2 separate regions of the Homo sapiens genome follow, and region 1 is linked to region 2. The links are contacts of gene promoters, found by promoter capture Hi-C in human tissues and cell types (Jung and others, 2019). All regions are on one chromosome and are shown on one strand. Each heading gives the region's core, a stretch centred on a gene start or on the middle of the fragment in contact. The rest is flanking DNA. Distances are from core to core; before and after follow the strand shown. Region 1 overlaps LOC102724355 (a long non-coding RNA gene). Region 2 holds the start of ADAMTS5 (ADAM metallopeptidase with thrombospondin type 1 motif 5).

Region 1 (7,445 bases), core at 3,644-6,143, 310 kb before region 2:
ATGTCAGAGATAAAAATTTTTTCGATTCCAAGGAATATAAATATGTCTGCCACAATAATTTGTAAACAGAACCTGTCCTCTGAGAAGGCTGGAATTTCATTTTAAAGTAACTAAATTGTTTGGGATACTTTTAGCCAACTATTAACTTAAGTGGGTCCTAAATTGTTAAAACCCTGGTTTGCCTGTCAAAAACTAATGGAATCTCTATTAGAAAGATGAACCCTCAGACTCGGTTTCACATGATGTCCAGTGGCAAAGTCCAGCAAAACATAAACTAGCAATCTATGTTCCCCAACTAACAAGAGCTATGTGTCTAGAAGTACGAATTTACAAAAACCATAAACGGCACAATTAGACCAGTATTAACTTAAGAGGTTGAAACGGTCAGACTTGGAATATGAAAAAAGAATGTATAATTTTGAAAGAACAAAAGTGCATTGAAAATACAAGCACAGAACATGAAACAATAAAAGATAGACCAAAAAATTGCAGAAATGAAACATGTAATTATTTATATTTTAAAAGTTAAATGGATAGATTTAAAAAACAAATAGATGATCACATCTGAAGATATCAAATAAACTGGAAGACAGATTGAGGCCTAAAGCCTGCCTGAAAGAAACAGAGACACCAATAAATGAAAAATATGAAGGAGAGTTAAAGAGAAATGGTGAGTATAATAAAAAGTCAAAAAGATCTAATTGGATTTCTACCAAGATAAGACAGAGAGAGTAGAGAAGATAAATTAATAGCTAGAAATACTACTGTTTTCCAAAACAGATGAAAAAATGTTCCAGGATATTTAGATCAATAAGCATAAAACATTTCCATTAGGATAAAAATGTTATTTATAGTATACATTACTAAATCTACCAAAACCAAATAAAAACAGAAGACTTTTTAAAGAAAACGGTATTAATAGCTCTTTTACAAATTGTCTATTAGGTTGGCCTATGAAGGTCTCAATGGCCACAGTGCAAACAGAAAATAATTGAAAGATATTTCAAAGTTTTGAGAGAAAGTAGATACCAACCTGGAATTAAGTTCCCAAATCAACAGTAATTCAATAATGAAAGTCAAAAAATGCTCCAAATGTTTCTAGTAACACATATGTTCACTTTTTAAAAAATTTATATGTACAGGCCGGGTGCGGCGGCTCGCCCCTGTAATCCCAGCACTTTGGGGGGCCGAGGCGGGTGGATCACAAGGTCAGCAGATCGGGACCATCCTGGCTAACATGATGAAACCCCGTCTCTACTAAAAATACAAAAACAAAATTAGCCGAGTGCGGTGGAGGGCGCCTGTAGTCCAAGCTACTCAGGAGGCTGAGGCGGGAGAATGGCGTGAACCTGGGAGGTGGAGCTTGCAGTGAGCTGAGATCGCGCCACTGCACTCGAGCCTGGGCGACAGAGCAAGACTCTGTCTGAAATAATATAATAATAATAATAATAATAATAATAATAATAATAATAATAAAATAAAAATTAAAAAATGTACAAATCTGTATATATTTCACTTCGATAATCAAAGAAAGGAGGTCAAATGAGGGCAATTTTAACAATCTTTATTTCTAACTTTCTATTTAAACAACTTCAATATGAGCATCAACACCAAAAATTAAACACTGACAACAATATAATGAAGTAATCTACAGACCTTATGCAAATTTCATTTATTGTCCTAATAATAGTGTTCCTTTTTCTGGTCCAGGATTCAATCCAGGATCACACATTTCATTCAGTTATGGGATTTCCTTCGTCTCCTTTATTCTAGGACAAGTACACCATCGTTCTTTATCCTCATGACACTTCTTTTTTACTTAACCAAGTGATAAATTTAACATTGCAAGTAATGAGACACCCAAATAGTATGTGCCACCTGAAATGCTGCCTTGTGAAGGGCATGAATCACTTTTGTGGTGTTCTTGACATAAATTCATAATCTTATTAAATTATCAAGAAATATCAAAGCCAAATAAATAAGGATTTTGTAAAACAGCAAATTATTACTCTTCAAATGATTAAATGATCACAGAAGGAAGACTGAGAGACTAGAAGAAATGATGGGCAAAGAAATTGATATACATATAAATAAATCTAAATTAATTACTAGATAGAAGGATTCATTGTACAAAAAGGAATAATTAAATTATATAAATAATGTATTCCCCCAATATGTGCTTGGGGATTGTTCTTAAAGAAGTTAGAAAAATATTAGATTTACTTTAGATTCCTTAAGAAAGAATGTTAAAATGTCAGTAAACAGTTGAACACAGAGGTGCTGTAGTCTAAATGTTTGTGTCTCCCCTAAATGTATATGTTAAAATATGAACCCCAAGATGATAATATTAGGAAGTGGGGACTTTTGGGAGGTGATCAGACCATGAAAGTGGAGGCTTCATGATGCGATTAGTGCCCTTATAAATGGGGCCCAAGGGAGATCCTTGGCGCTTCCACCATGTGAGGACATAGTGAGAAGGCACCGTCTATGAACCAGGAAATGGGCCCACACCAGATACAGAGTCAGCTAGCATCTTAATCTTGGACTTCCTAGCCTCCAGAACTGGAAGAAATAAGCTCTGTTTCTCACAAGTTGCCCAGTTTATGGTATGTTCTTATACCAGCTCAAAGTAATTAAGAAAAGGAGAAAAAACATGTTTTACTTGCAAAGAAAACAGGAAAAGAGGAACAATTAAGTCAGGCCAAAAGACAAATAAGTAGGAAGAACAAAATATGTAGAGACAAAAACAAATATATTTTTGATTGAAATAAAATAAGATAAGCTCACTGGTTATACAAACAAATATAATTTAGTTGGATTAAAAAATGACTCTAGGCCAGGCGCGGTGGCTTACACCTGTAATCTCAGCACTTTGGGAGGCTGAAGTGGGCGGGATCATTTGAGGTCAGGAGATCGAGACCAGCCTGACCAACATGATGAAACCCTGTCTCTACTAAAAATACAAAAAAATTTAGCTGGGCATGGTGGTGTGTGCCTGTAATCCCAGCTTACTTGGGAGGCTGAGGCAGGAGAATCACTTGAGCCCAGGAGGTGGAGGTTGCAGTGAGCTGAGATTGTGCCATTGCACTTCAGCCTGGGTGACAGGGCAAGACTGTCTCAAAAAAAAAAAAAGACTCTATATATTAATAAATGTTATTTATAAGGAAGACCTCAAGTGAATAGTAACTGAAAGAAAATATTCAAACTATATTGATGTAATAAAACAGATTTTATACTAAAAATAATTATTAAGGATATACTGGATCCATAATAATAATAAAATTGTCATTTCTTTATTAGTTGTAGGGTAAAAATGATATATAATTCTTGAAAGACACTTTTAAAGACTTGCAGAAATTGAGAAAGCAGCCATTTCTCAATTTTCAACAAGGTCACTTCTCCATGAATGTATCTAAGTCTTTGTTACTTGACTGGATGGGCAAACGTTCAAAAAATTGGCAAGATAATTTCATAAGACAAAGAGAAGTGTGAGGAGGAGGGAAGGAAAGTGGAAGGAGCAAGGAGGAGCCAAAAAAGAGAAGGAATTACCCTGTTCTAAAAGAAATTTTATTTAAAGGTAAAACAATGAACATTTAAATAGTAATCCACAGGCGACAAATCTAAGGCCACACAGTGAAGAGCTGAAATACAGAGTGCTGAATCAGTTGGAAACTCAACATGTGACAGAGGCACCAGGTCAGTAGAAAAGGGCACAGTAGCCATTAAATGGAGCTGGGACAGTTATTCCTGTGATAAATTAAGTTAGATCCATACCTACAGGATACACACACACACACACACACACACACACACAAATGAATTCAAGGTACGTTGGACCTAAAAGTGAATACTGAAAATGTAAAAATTTTTAAATGTGTCTGAATGTCTCTGTTGCCTCAGGGAAAAGAAATGTTTATTAAACAAGATATAAATAGCTAAAACAGGAAAGATAAGGATAAAAAGTAGATACTTTTAAAATTTCTTCTCATTAAAACAGGCAGTATGTATGTGAAAATAAAAAACCAAGCTCTGGGAAAAATAACATAATCTGCAAGAATTCTTATCCAAAGTATGTAAATAACTCCTATGAATCAACAAGATAAAAAGTCAGCTATCCAAGCAGAGAGGTCAAGGTTTATGTACAGGCAATTCCTAGGGAAGACATCCAAATGGTGGGTGTGTTTCTGCATGTTTATCTGAAAGTGTGCTAACTTCAGCAGTAATAAGAGACATGTAACTAAAAACCATAAGAAAAAAATAATCATTTCATACCTCCATAAACTTGGCCCAATTAAAATTCTCTCTCTACTTCTCCCCTCTCCCTCCCTCCCTCTCTCTCTCTCTCCATAAAAATGGCCAAATTAAAACTCTCTCTCTCTACTTCTCCCCCCTCCCTCTCTCTCTCTGTCTCTCTCGCTCGCTCGCTCGCTCCCATGCGCTCACACACACACTACACCGGCACATGCACTACTATACACTACTGTAAATGTGGCTGATTGCAAAGAGTAACAGAATATCTTATGCATGCTTGAGAGCAACAATTGGTTCAACCCTGTTTGAGAGCAAGTTGGTGAATCAAATAAAATTGTAAATGTGCATACCCTATACAATTCTGTGCCCTTCCCCCCTCCCGGCCTCTCTCTCTTTCTCACTCAGAGCAAAATGTCCATTAAAAGATAATGAACAAATCAATTGTAGAAGAATATGTTGAGGCCATCAATGGTTTCAGTCATATTTTCTTTCTTGAGGAGGATCCTGAATGTATGATGTTCACTCTAGGTTCTTTATTCATTTTGGAATACTGAAATATTTGATAATCATTCAAAAAATAAAAACAAGGTGTTACTATAAGGTGAAAGGAGCAGAAATTCTGATTTGAACTACTTTATTTTATTTATAGCTTATATGAGCCTGAGAAAAATCCCTTAACATTAGTAAACTTGTCTTTTCCCACTGGTACACATTAATAATAATCACATCTCTTCTGCTACTCACAAAATTTATAGGAAACTCAATGAAATAATGCATATAAAAGTGCTTTGTAAGTCAAATAATCAAACAAATATTAGCTTTCTGATAAACATGTTGTTACTATTATAATCATGTTGTTACTATTATAATTACAATAAAAATAATTATCACCTGAGTAATTTACATGATCTGGTATCTTTGAAAATGATAATTTGAACCAAATGAGCTCTAATGAGCCTCTGCACCTAACATTCTGAAATTGATCTGTGACTAAAATCAAACATTGCAAAAGAGAAGGATGATGCTTATTGGTTTGTGCTATACAATAAGTGACAATCATCATAGTTATGATTCATGAAAATTGAAACAAGTAAAAGTAACACATTTAATATTATATAGGGCTAAAAATATTCATTTCAATACCTATTGTTATGAGTTGAAATTACTTCATACTGAAAAATAAACTGAAAAGTTGGATTGAATTGGCCAAGTGCCTCTAAGTGAATTTGAGAGTTAATTAAGTATAATACTGAGTGACATGTAAGAAGATCAACACATTTTAACAGAAGTGCTTTTTCAGTGATGCCACAACTTCTGGGAATATTAACACACTGGGTGAGACAATATTCTGTATCCCAGAGTTAACAACTAAAAAGTTAACTATATTTTTCCATCACATTCAGATAGGGAGAATACAAGCACAGAGAGCAAGCCTTTGGACCTACTCATTAGAAAAAATGTGTTCCTTCAGTGGGTTCTGGAGCCTAAATAGAAAACCAAAGGGAAACATGGTTTTTCTGAGCAGTCCACTCCAGATACACACTCATGAAATCTTGCTTTGCAAAACTTGGTCAAACTTGACAAACTCTGGTTCTATTCATTAATACAAGATAATCACAAAACACAAATATAACAAACAAGGAATTATAGACAAAATGCTTAACAGTAAGGGCTGTGAAATAAACCTAAATCTAAATGCTGTCTCCACCACTTCCTGCATGACTTGTTTCTTCATCTGAAAAAAATGACAGTTACAACAGTAAAAAAACCTCATATGCAGGCATTCGTTTCTGCAGAATTGAATCAGTGACTAATATGGTTATGTAATTCCTGGCACATAGTATCTCTTCAAACTCTCAGTGATGGTTAGCTGCTATAACCATATGTTTGGGGGAAATCATGAGGGTAATTGAAAATTTTGCAATTAATAACCCTCAAAATATAGAATTATTTATTATCTATTTATGTAACTTAAATTTACCTACTTAAGACTCTGAATCACAGAGGTTATTGGTTATAAAATTTGGCCTGAAATTCATTAAGTACTATCTCTGTGACCTAAAATTACAGTACCTTTGCCTTCTAATATTTTGCTACAATTTATAAATAACCTGTTCTTTATTTATTTCTATGTTCCTATACCCAATAATGTTTTCCGGAAGTTTTCTGTCATCTGCTTTGGATCATTTTGTTCGCTTTTGTTTCGTTTTAGTTAGATATAGTAGATTTTATTTCTGTTGAAGCTTACTTTTGCTTCTTTTCCTAATTTGAAAGTGCTTTAGCAAATTTCTCACTGCTTATAGCATTATTCTGAAAGTATCACTTAATAACATTTATATTTATAAACAAATTGTTTCCCCTATTAAAGATGCTAATGAAAATGAAACACTGTCACACAGCAGAAAGATGACAAAATGTTATCCAATCATATCCAACCAACTTTCCAGAAGTTTTGTTTACCATCATCAGTTTCAGATTCCTAGGCCTTCAAACTCAAAGGGAGCATCGCAGTCCTCTGATGCATCATCCTCATTTTTACATAAGAATGTCAAGATCTGCATCAGTTAGACAAATTAATTCAGCTGAAATTAATTCAGCTGGAATAAACCAAACATACAGACTTTAAATTCTAAGTCATTTCTACTAAAACACACCAGTAATTTAATTTACGTGAGTAAAATGTTATAAAATATGATAAGTAGTCCACTAAACAGGAAACGATTTTTAAATATAAAATAAAAATTCTTTAAATAATATTTAAAGCTTCTGTGTTTTAACAAAAATGTTAATATTTTTTCCCCAAAGTTTTAATTTTCAGGTATTTCTAGCCTCTGTTTAACATTTTCAAGAACTTATATTTTGTAATTCTAAACAATCATATAGTCTACTCACCTAGAAACCAATGAGATGCTTTTTTTTAATGATTCAATGGCAAATGTCTTCAGTAAATATTTAGAGCACCAAAAGTTTCTACTAAAAGCTGTTTTGCATTTTAATATAATTTTAAAATTGTTGGCAATTAACATCCTAGAATATATTCAGTATTTTAGAAATTTGTGCTATTCATACATATTTAATAAATCAGAGGTTTTTATAATGTGTTAGATTACAAATCAGGTTCAATTTTTGACCGAAAAGCATGCAGACAAGATAAGAAGCTTCGATCATTGTTTAAATGCAAAGTTAGAGGTATT
Region 2 (7,526 bases), core at 3,350-5,849:
TTAAGTAATTTGAAAACTTTGCTTGAAATTTGCCATTATGAAGGAAGGGAAAGAAAACCTCAAATGTTTCAAATTACTTTCTGCTGGAAATTCCTGATTTTCCATGTGTTTCTAGTAAGGTTTGATTTTTGATGATTTTTGGAAAATAAGGAAAAATAGAACTCAAGTAACTCATAAAAGCAAGTAATATGTGCATAATTGTGTGAGAAAAGCTAAAACAACATTTCACAGCTGGTCAGCATAAAAAATGACTTGTCGGTTTTACTTTACAGATAACACCTGTATGTCTTAAATAATACATATGTACATTATTCATTTGAAGACTTCTATATAGTATAAAATTACTGTGTATAAAAAATGAAAATCTGGCTTTCTAGAAATATATTTTCTATAATATTAAGTAAAACAGATTCTAAAGCATATGTTATCCATCACAATAGATAGATTGTTTTGTAATATGTCCTAATCAGATAGCAGAGAAGATGGTTTCGAGTTTTATCAGGCATTCAGTAAGGTTTCCCGAGGGGCAAAATAAAAGAATCTCTACAATGCAGGTCTCTAGAAAGTTTTCTTCGTAAAGGCAGAGGATGGTTGGTTTAATCCCCTCTTCTATTATCTGAGCTCTAATTAGGATTTCTATCAAGCCATCAGTGCAGCCTAGAGGGAAACATGAGTTCAAGTGAGTACGTGTGTGGCACATGCATGCTGACATGTGCTGTGTGTACTAATGCATATGAGATTGGGTACACATGCATTAGTGCATCAGGGTCCATGTTCTGCCATTGTAAATATCAGAGGGGATGGACGGGGGGAAAAAGAGCTGGGGAAGGAGGGAAGAAGGACTATTTAAGTGTAGTTTCACCCTCTAAAAATGAAGAGTTCATATCAAAGCTAGAATCACTCCCAAAGTGTGACCTTTGGTTTTGAAGCAAAGCCCTCTAAAAACGAGAATTTGCAAAGCGAGTGTCACAAAAGGGAAAAGCTCACCCAGTGTCTTTAAGGCATTCATTCATGGTCCCACGCAGTAGTGGAGCTTAGTAGTGGAGATCTTACCCATAGAATCCACACACCCTGCTACCACCAAGGGTGCCGATACTAAAAGGGTTTCCAATTCAGCAGGCCTAGGGTAGGGATCTTGATGTGGGAAAGAAAAACGCAGAGTTGAAAGACTGTAATTCTTCTACATGGGAGGTAAGGAGCAGGTGTTTGGCCGGAAGGGAATATTTTACTGTCAGATATTTCCTCACTCTTACCATTAAAATCATAGTTTGGGGTGGGGGGTAGGAAATGACACTTTAGCAAATGGAAATTTGAGAAAATGCTACTTAAAAGAGTATACAAATTATGGAGTGGAGCTATATTGGAAATACAGGGCTCAGAGCACCTGCAGGAGTAATTCTCTTGCTTTCTCCCCCTCTATATTTGTATTTTCCAGTTTGTATTCTGTGCATCTATTATACAAACGGCTCCATCTCTAAACTGTGAGTTTCCTCCAGACATTACTCATGACTTGTTCATCTTCTCATGCCTCCAGAGAGCCTCATAAAGCACTTTGCAGTAGGACCTTGATAGATATTTGTTAAACTGGATACATTGTAAGAAGTGTTGTAGAATGAGCCCAAATTAGGAGCTGGGAGATTTAGGTTTCAGGACATTCGGCCACTAGTGGACTTTTTTATCCACAGGCAAGCCATTTTGGCCTCTGGGTCTCAGCTTTTCACAGTTAGATGGAGAAAGTTGCCCTACCTGATCTCCAAGATAAATTATAACATTCTGGAGTAGTAAGTCCTTCTTCCTTTTAGGAAATGTAAAATCATCTATCATGGTATTTGTGATCATATACTCTATAAATTCAGTGGAAATTTCTCATTAAATGTGCACAAATAAAACTGTTACTTTGAATGAGTAGCAGTTATTCTGCTTAAACATGATTGCTAATATATTTTTCCTTTCTACTGTAAAAATAAAAAGTTCAGCTACTTTTATCCAGTGCAAATTACTTCCTTAGAGTGACAGATAGTAATTTTTTCCACAACGTAGCAGCTCATCCTAATCCACTAGTGTAATGTTTTAAAAATACTACCAAATGAAGTTTCCAAAGTGTCCAAGTTACTTTCTAAAAAAAAAATTATATCGAAGTAGAAATTTTCTGAGATGTAAGAATTTATTCATTGTATTCATAAGATTTAGTATTTATTTCCTTGTGAATATATACCTCTAGTAAATATTCTGTGCTTGATATTCATGTTTGGAACTTTATCTGTGTCTATCCTGTTCTCCCCATGTATTTTTAAATATTTGAATAAACTGAGTACAAATGTCACTATATAATTAAACTTAAAGGCATAATATTCAGATTCAGGATTCAGCACGGTGTTTGTGAAAGAGGAGAAAAGCTTCATTAAGAAGAAAATTCAAGCCGTCACTGTGTCTCATCAGGTGGGAGAATCCCTGGAGGTTATGAGTTCAAGACCATCAAAGAAAAGAGAATCTGTTGGAATTTCCTGAAATCCTAAATAACAAAATCTATCTGTGAATGAAAATAATTGTAATTAACAAATTTTAACCACTGTCACCTAAAATGCCTATTAAAATGATTCTTTGGCATGAACAATGACAAAATTGTTAAATTTATTGAATCAAGGTTGTATTAGAAATGGTGTTTAGTGCCAAATATTGGACTCCTTTTCACTGTAACTGGTTAAAAAGATAAAAGTTTGCTATTTGTAGGTGCAAAGCAAGGACCACAAAAGAGAACGGCTAATGCAAGGCTCAAAGGCCTTGGTGGGATAGAGAAAATGGCTGGAACCTCCTATTCTGACCCATCCAGCTGTTAGCATTGGCCTGGGTCAACTGGCCACTGAGAGGCTGAGGCATTGTGGAATTATAAAGCAATGGCCTTCAGCAATAGTAACTTCCTCCCTGGTCCTGATGTATTTCAGAATCTATCAGGGGCTGTTGGGTGTCCCTAAGGCCCCAGTGATTTCTTTATTTATAAGTTAAAACAAGATGATACATCTGCCCCTCACAAGACTCCAGAGGGTGTTCCCAGGCACACGGCAATGGGTATTGTTGCCGGGCAATTCTGAAATTCCTTCCAGAGGATTATTGCCACTCTAAGAACCTCCATCAAGCTCTGGACCCTCATGGTTCCCTCCCAGAGAAAGCGATCAGCTTGGGGCCCCATTAAGGCACCCGCCCTGCTATCCCCAGCGTAGCCAAAGTTAAACGTAGAAAAAGATGGAAATGTACAAATTACACCACATTCATTTTTCACTGGTGCATTAGTTAATTAGCCTGAAGAATAATTTGGGCATGGAGGGAGCTCTTACCCCTACAGTAGAAGGTAGACCTTCTAACCATAAGTCGTCGGGTTTTCCTTCTCCCTTCTTAGAATGATAATTAGAGGAAACAAAGAGGTCAGAGGAAACGAGTAGCAGTGATAATGTCACCCGCGTACTAATAAGCACCAATCTTCCTTCCGCCAAAAGTATTCTTTTTCTTCTAAAAGGAATTTCTGAGAATGAAGGTAGGTCAAGGCCTATGGCGATAAGTGGTTGCTTTAGAAGAGACAAAAACAGATATAGGAATTTATTATTAAAGTATCATTTAAGCAAAAAATAAAAGTATGAGCGCAAAATTTTAAAATCTTTCAGGGAAAAAAAATGAGCGGAATTCCCTCTAAGAGTTAACTCTTTCTCGCTCTGCCTTTTTAGAGCAAAGGAAGTTCCAGTGGGCTGGGAGTAAGGGACAGATTGTGGACCCTGACGAAAGGCGTGCTGGAGAAAGCTGGGAGCCCGCCGTTCGCACACAAAGCTGCGGAGTTCCCAAGCGGCGGGCGTTCTCGCCCCGGGGTACCGCAGCGCGCCAGGAAGCGCCCTGGGCTCTCTGGCTGTCCAGCCGCTCTGCTGGTGGCCGGGAGAAGTTAGTCACCCGGAGCCCGAATCCGGCGAGCGTCAAAGCATCAAGAGGCTGGAGAATGGGGAGGGAGGAAACCGGGTGCCGGGACGGAGGGGAGGAAGCGAAGGGAACGCGGTGGTTAGGGGACGCACGGGAAGCTGAAAAGCTCTGGCTGGTGGATGGAGTTGCACGGTCTGCGAGGCCAGAGCGCACGGGTGTGCAAAGGGGAAAAACTTGCGGCAGGAACTTCCCACCGAGGGCGAGAAAAGCAGGCAAGAAGGAGGCAGGGAGAGACTTGAAACGTCTCAATAACTTTAACCAAAACACCCGTTCAGGAGATGAGGTAAGCCAAGGTTAGCCAACCCCAATTGGTTGTGAAATATCAGACAGACCCGGAGCCGCTGTGGCTTTAAAAGTGGCCAAGGAAATCTGTTTTTCTTGCCCCATTACTTTTTATTTTCCCCTCTCCCCTCCTACCACCTCGCCGGGTCCCAGTCCCTTCCTCCTACTTCGTCTCCCTTTCCTCGATCACCCTCCTCTTTTGCCCTCCCCCATCTGATTAGGCGCGGACTGGGAAGGGTGGGAGTGGTGGGGGAAGCTCTCCCTTTAAGAGGCAGCGTGCAGTGACGAACTGTTGAAATTGCCATTGCAGGATGGCATGCCGCTATAAATTCATTGTTCCACCTCCTCGCATCTTCACAGCGCTCGCGCTGCTCTCGGCGCTCGCAGCTGCCGACTGGGGATGACGGCGGGCAGGAGGAGACCGCAGCCGAAGGGACACAGACACGCCGCTTCACCAGCTCGCCTCAGGCTGCCCCCCTGCATTTTTGTTTTAATTTTTACGGCTTTTTCCCCTCTCTTTCTTCCCTTCCTCCTGGTCCCAGCAGAGCCAAGGAAACCCACAAAATAAGAAAGGAAGTGGGCCCCGGAGCTTGGAACCTCCACAGCCGGCTTGTCCAGCGCAGCGCGGGGGCGGGAGGCTGCGCGCACCAGTTGCCAGCCCGGTGCGCGGTACCTTTCCTTACTTTTCTTGAAACAGCGATCGTGCCTGCATTTGGTGGTTTTTTGGTTTTTGTTTTTTTCCTTTTCCCGTATTTGCTGAATCTCCACTATCCGACTTTTTTTTTTTAATCTTTTCTTTCCCCCCCCCCCCACCCCACCTCTTTCTGGAGCACGAATCCAAACATTTTCCCAAGCAACAAAGAAAAGTTCGCACGCTGGCACCGCAGCCCGGACAGGCTGGCGCTGCTGCCGGGCCCCCCTCCCTCCGACACTTGACTCAATCCTGCAAGCAAGTGTGTGTGTGTCCCCATCCCCCGCCCCGTTAACTTCATAGCAAATAACAAATACCCATAAAGTCCCAGTCGCGCAGCCCCTCCCCGCGGGCAGCGCACTATGCTGCTCGGGTGGGCGTCCCTGCTGCTGTGCGCGTTCCGCCTGCCCCTGGCCGCGGTCGGCCCCGCCGCGACACCTGCCCAGGATAAAGCCGGGCAGCCTCCGACTGCTGCAGCAGCCGCCCAGCCCCGCCGGCGGCAGGGGGAGGAGGTGCAGGAGCGAGCCGAGCCTCCCGGCCACCCGCACCCCCTGGCGCAGCGGCGCAGGAGCAAGGGGCTGGTGCAGAACATCGACCAACTCTACTCCGGCGGCGGCAAGGTGGGCTACCTCGTCTACGCGGGCGGCCGGAGGTTCCTCTTGGACCTGGAGCGAGATGGTTCGGTGGGCATTGCTGGCTTCGTGCCCGCAGGAGGCGGGACGAGTGCGCCCTGGCGCCACCGGAGCCACTGCTTCTATCGGGGCACAGTGGACGGTAGTCCCCGCTCTCTGGCTGTCTTTGACCTCTGTGGGGGTCTCGACGGCTTCTTCGCGGTCAAGCACGCGCGCTACACCCTAAAGCCACTGCTGCGCGGACCCTGGGCGGAGGAAGAAAAGGGGCGCGTGTACGGGGATGGGTCCGCACGGATCCTGCACGTCTACACCCGCGAGGGCTTCAGCTTCGAGGCCCTGCCGCCGCGCGCCAGCTGCGAAACCCCCGCGTCCACACCGGAGGCCCACGAGCATGCTCCGGCGCACAGCAACCCGAGCGGACGCGCAGCACTGGCCTCGCAGCTCTTGGACCAGTCCGCTCTCTCGCCCGCTGGGGGCTCAGGACCGCAGACGTGGTGGCGGCGGCGGCGCCGCTCCATCTCCCGGGCCCGCCAGGTGGAGCTGCTTCTGGTGGCTGACGCGTCCATGGCGCGGTTGTATGGCCGGGGCCTGCAGCATTACCTGCTGACCCTGGCCTCCATCGCCAATAGGCTGTACAGCCATGCTAGCATCGAGAACCACATCCGCCTGGCCGTGGTGAAGGTGGTGGTGCTAGGCGACAAGGACAAGAGCCTGGAAGTGAGCAAGAACGCTGCCACCACACTCAAGAACTTTTGCAAGTGGCAGCACCAACACAACCAGCTGGGAGATGACCATGAGGAGCACTACGATGCAGCTATCCTGTTTACTCGGGAGGTAGGTCCAGCCGGGATGCGGGGGTCCCAGCGCTGATATCAGGAGGTAGGTAGAAGGGAATCTTGCTGGTGGCTTTGCTTCTCCCTCAAACCTCCTGCAGCTGTGGATGTGTTTAACTGCTTCTTGCAGGAAATCCAACCAGCCTTCAACTCTGCTCCTGTATTCACGTTAGCCCCGCAGAAATTTTTGCCTTAAATGCCAAGACTTGCTTAGGTGATGATGAAGACCCAGTAGTGCTGCATGTCATCTAGTCTGAGGTGTTGTGGCATAGGAACGTAAACATAAGAAGGCACAAGGATGCTTGGGGAAATGATACAGTTAAATGGGGAAAAGGAAGGAAAACAAAGTTGCCTTTGGGATCATGGGTCTTCTTCTTTCCAGTGAAAATAAAATATAACCTTGTCCCACCTAATGGAAAGGGCTGGATGGTTCACTCACGGTACTCACTGTTATCCGATGACCTTCTTTTGTAAGTGTCCACACCTTTTTACTAGAATCCCTTCTGTTACACAGAGGATGAGAAAACTTTCTCAAGGACTCTTTTTCCAGGTTGGATTCCTAATGGAGTTCTTACATGTCCACCTTGGAATCTCAGTTCCTGGGAAGGAAGGAATGTGGGCGGGCCAGCAGGGTACAGAGACCCAATCAGATGAGAGGACAAACTTGTGAGGTTCCTTAACAACTCCTTTGCTTAGTCGACCAGTGCGTCGCAAGCACTGCCCAGGCCAACTCCGCCGCCTAGGGAGGGTCACATCCCGTTTGCGTGTTTGGGTTTTGGATGAATATGTTTCCGAAGCCCCAGTGCAGAAGATCTGGGCGAAGAGTCAAGACAGAAGGAAGAAATGTTTTCCCAGCATTTCCCCCTTTTAAGAAAGATGGTTATGGGGAAGCAAAGAAATGGATCTTTAAGGCTCAGAGGCTCAGGGAGGAACGCAGTATCTATTTACACAGTATTTGACCACTACGTTAGTGTGACATTTACACAAAAAGTCTGGGTTGGTTTGGGGCCTGGCTTGCGCATAGTTCTAAGCCTCAGTTGTCACAACTCGACTCTGATTGGCAGTTTTAAGTTGTGCCTCTTAAATGCCTGGTAAGAATTGACTTCTAAAGCTCATTCTTTAAGTATT

What was found. The method cuts DNA at HindIII sites, captures the fragments that hold promoters and counts their contacts. A contact is called where the count stands out against the background at its distance.
Region 1: a fragment that was not itself captured here is called in contact with the fragment with the promoter of ADAMTS5 in region 2 in 6 of the 25 tissues and cell types used here (H1 embryonic stem cells, dorsolateral prefrontal cortex, heart right ventricle and 3 more).

Annotation. Positions count from the first base shown.
Region 1 is chr21:27,274,029-27,281,473 of GRCh38, reverse strand. All of the region lies in intron 1 of LOC102724355 (a long non-coding RNA gene), which reads left to right. Among named protein-coding and RNA genes, the nearest start is that of ADAMTS5, 310 kb to the right of the region's middle. The HindIII fragment of the contact is 8,219 bases long and covers 784-7,445 here.
Region 2 is chr21:26,964,161-26,971,686 of GRCh38, reverse strand. ADAMTS5 (ADAM metallopeptidase with thrombospondin type 1 motif 5) reads left to right here and starts at 4,599. Exons shown (of 8, transcript NM_007038.5): 1 at 4,599-6,399. The coding sequence starts at 5,296. LOC124905050 reads left to right here. Exons shown (of 3, transcript XM_047441063.1): 2 at 3,717-4,243; 3 at 4,603-5,031. The coding sequence ends at 5,031. The HindIII fragment of the contact is 10,779 bases long and covers 1-7,526 here.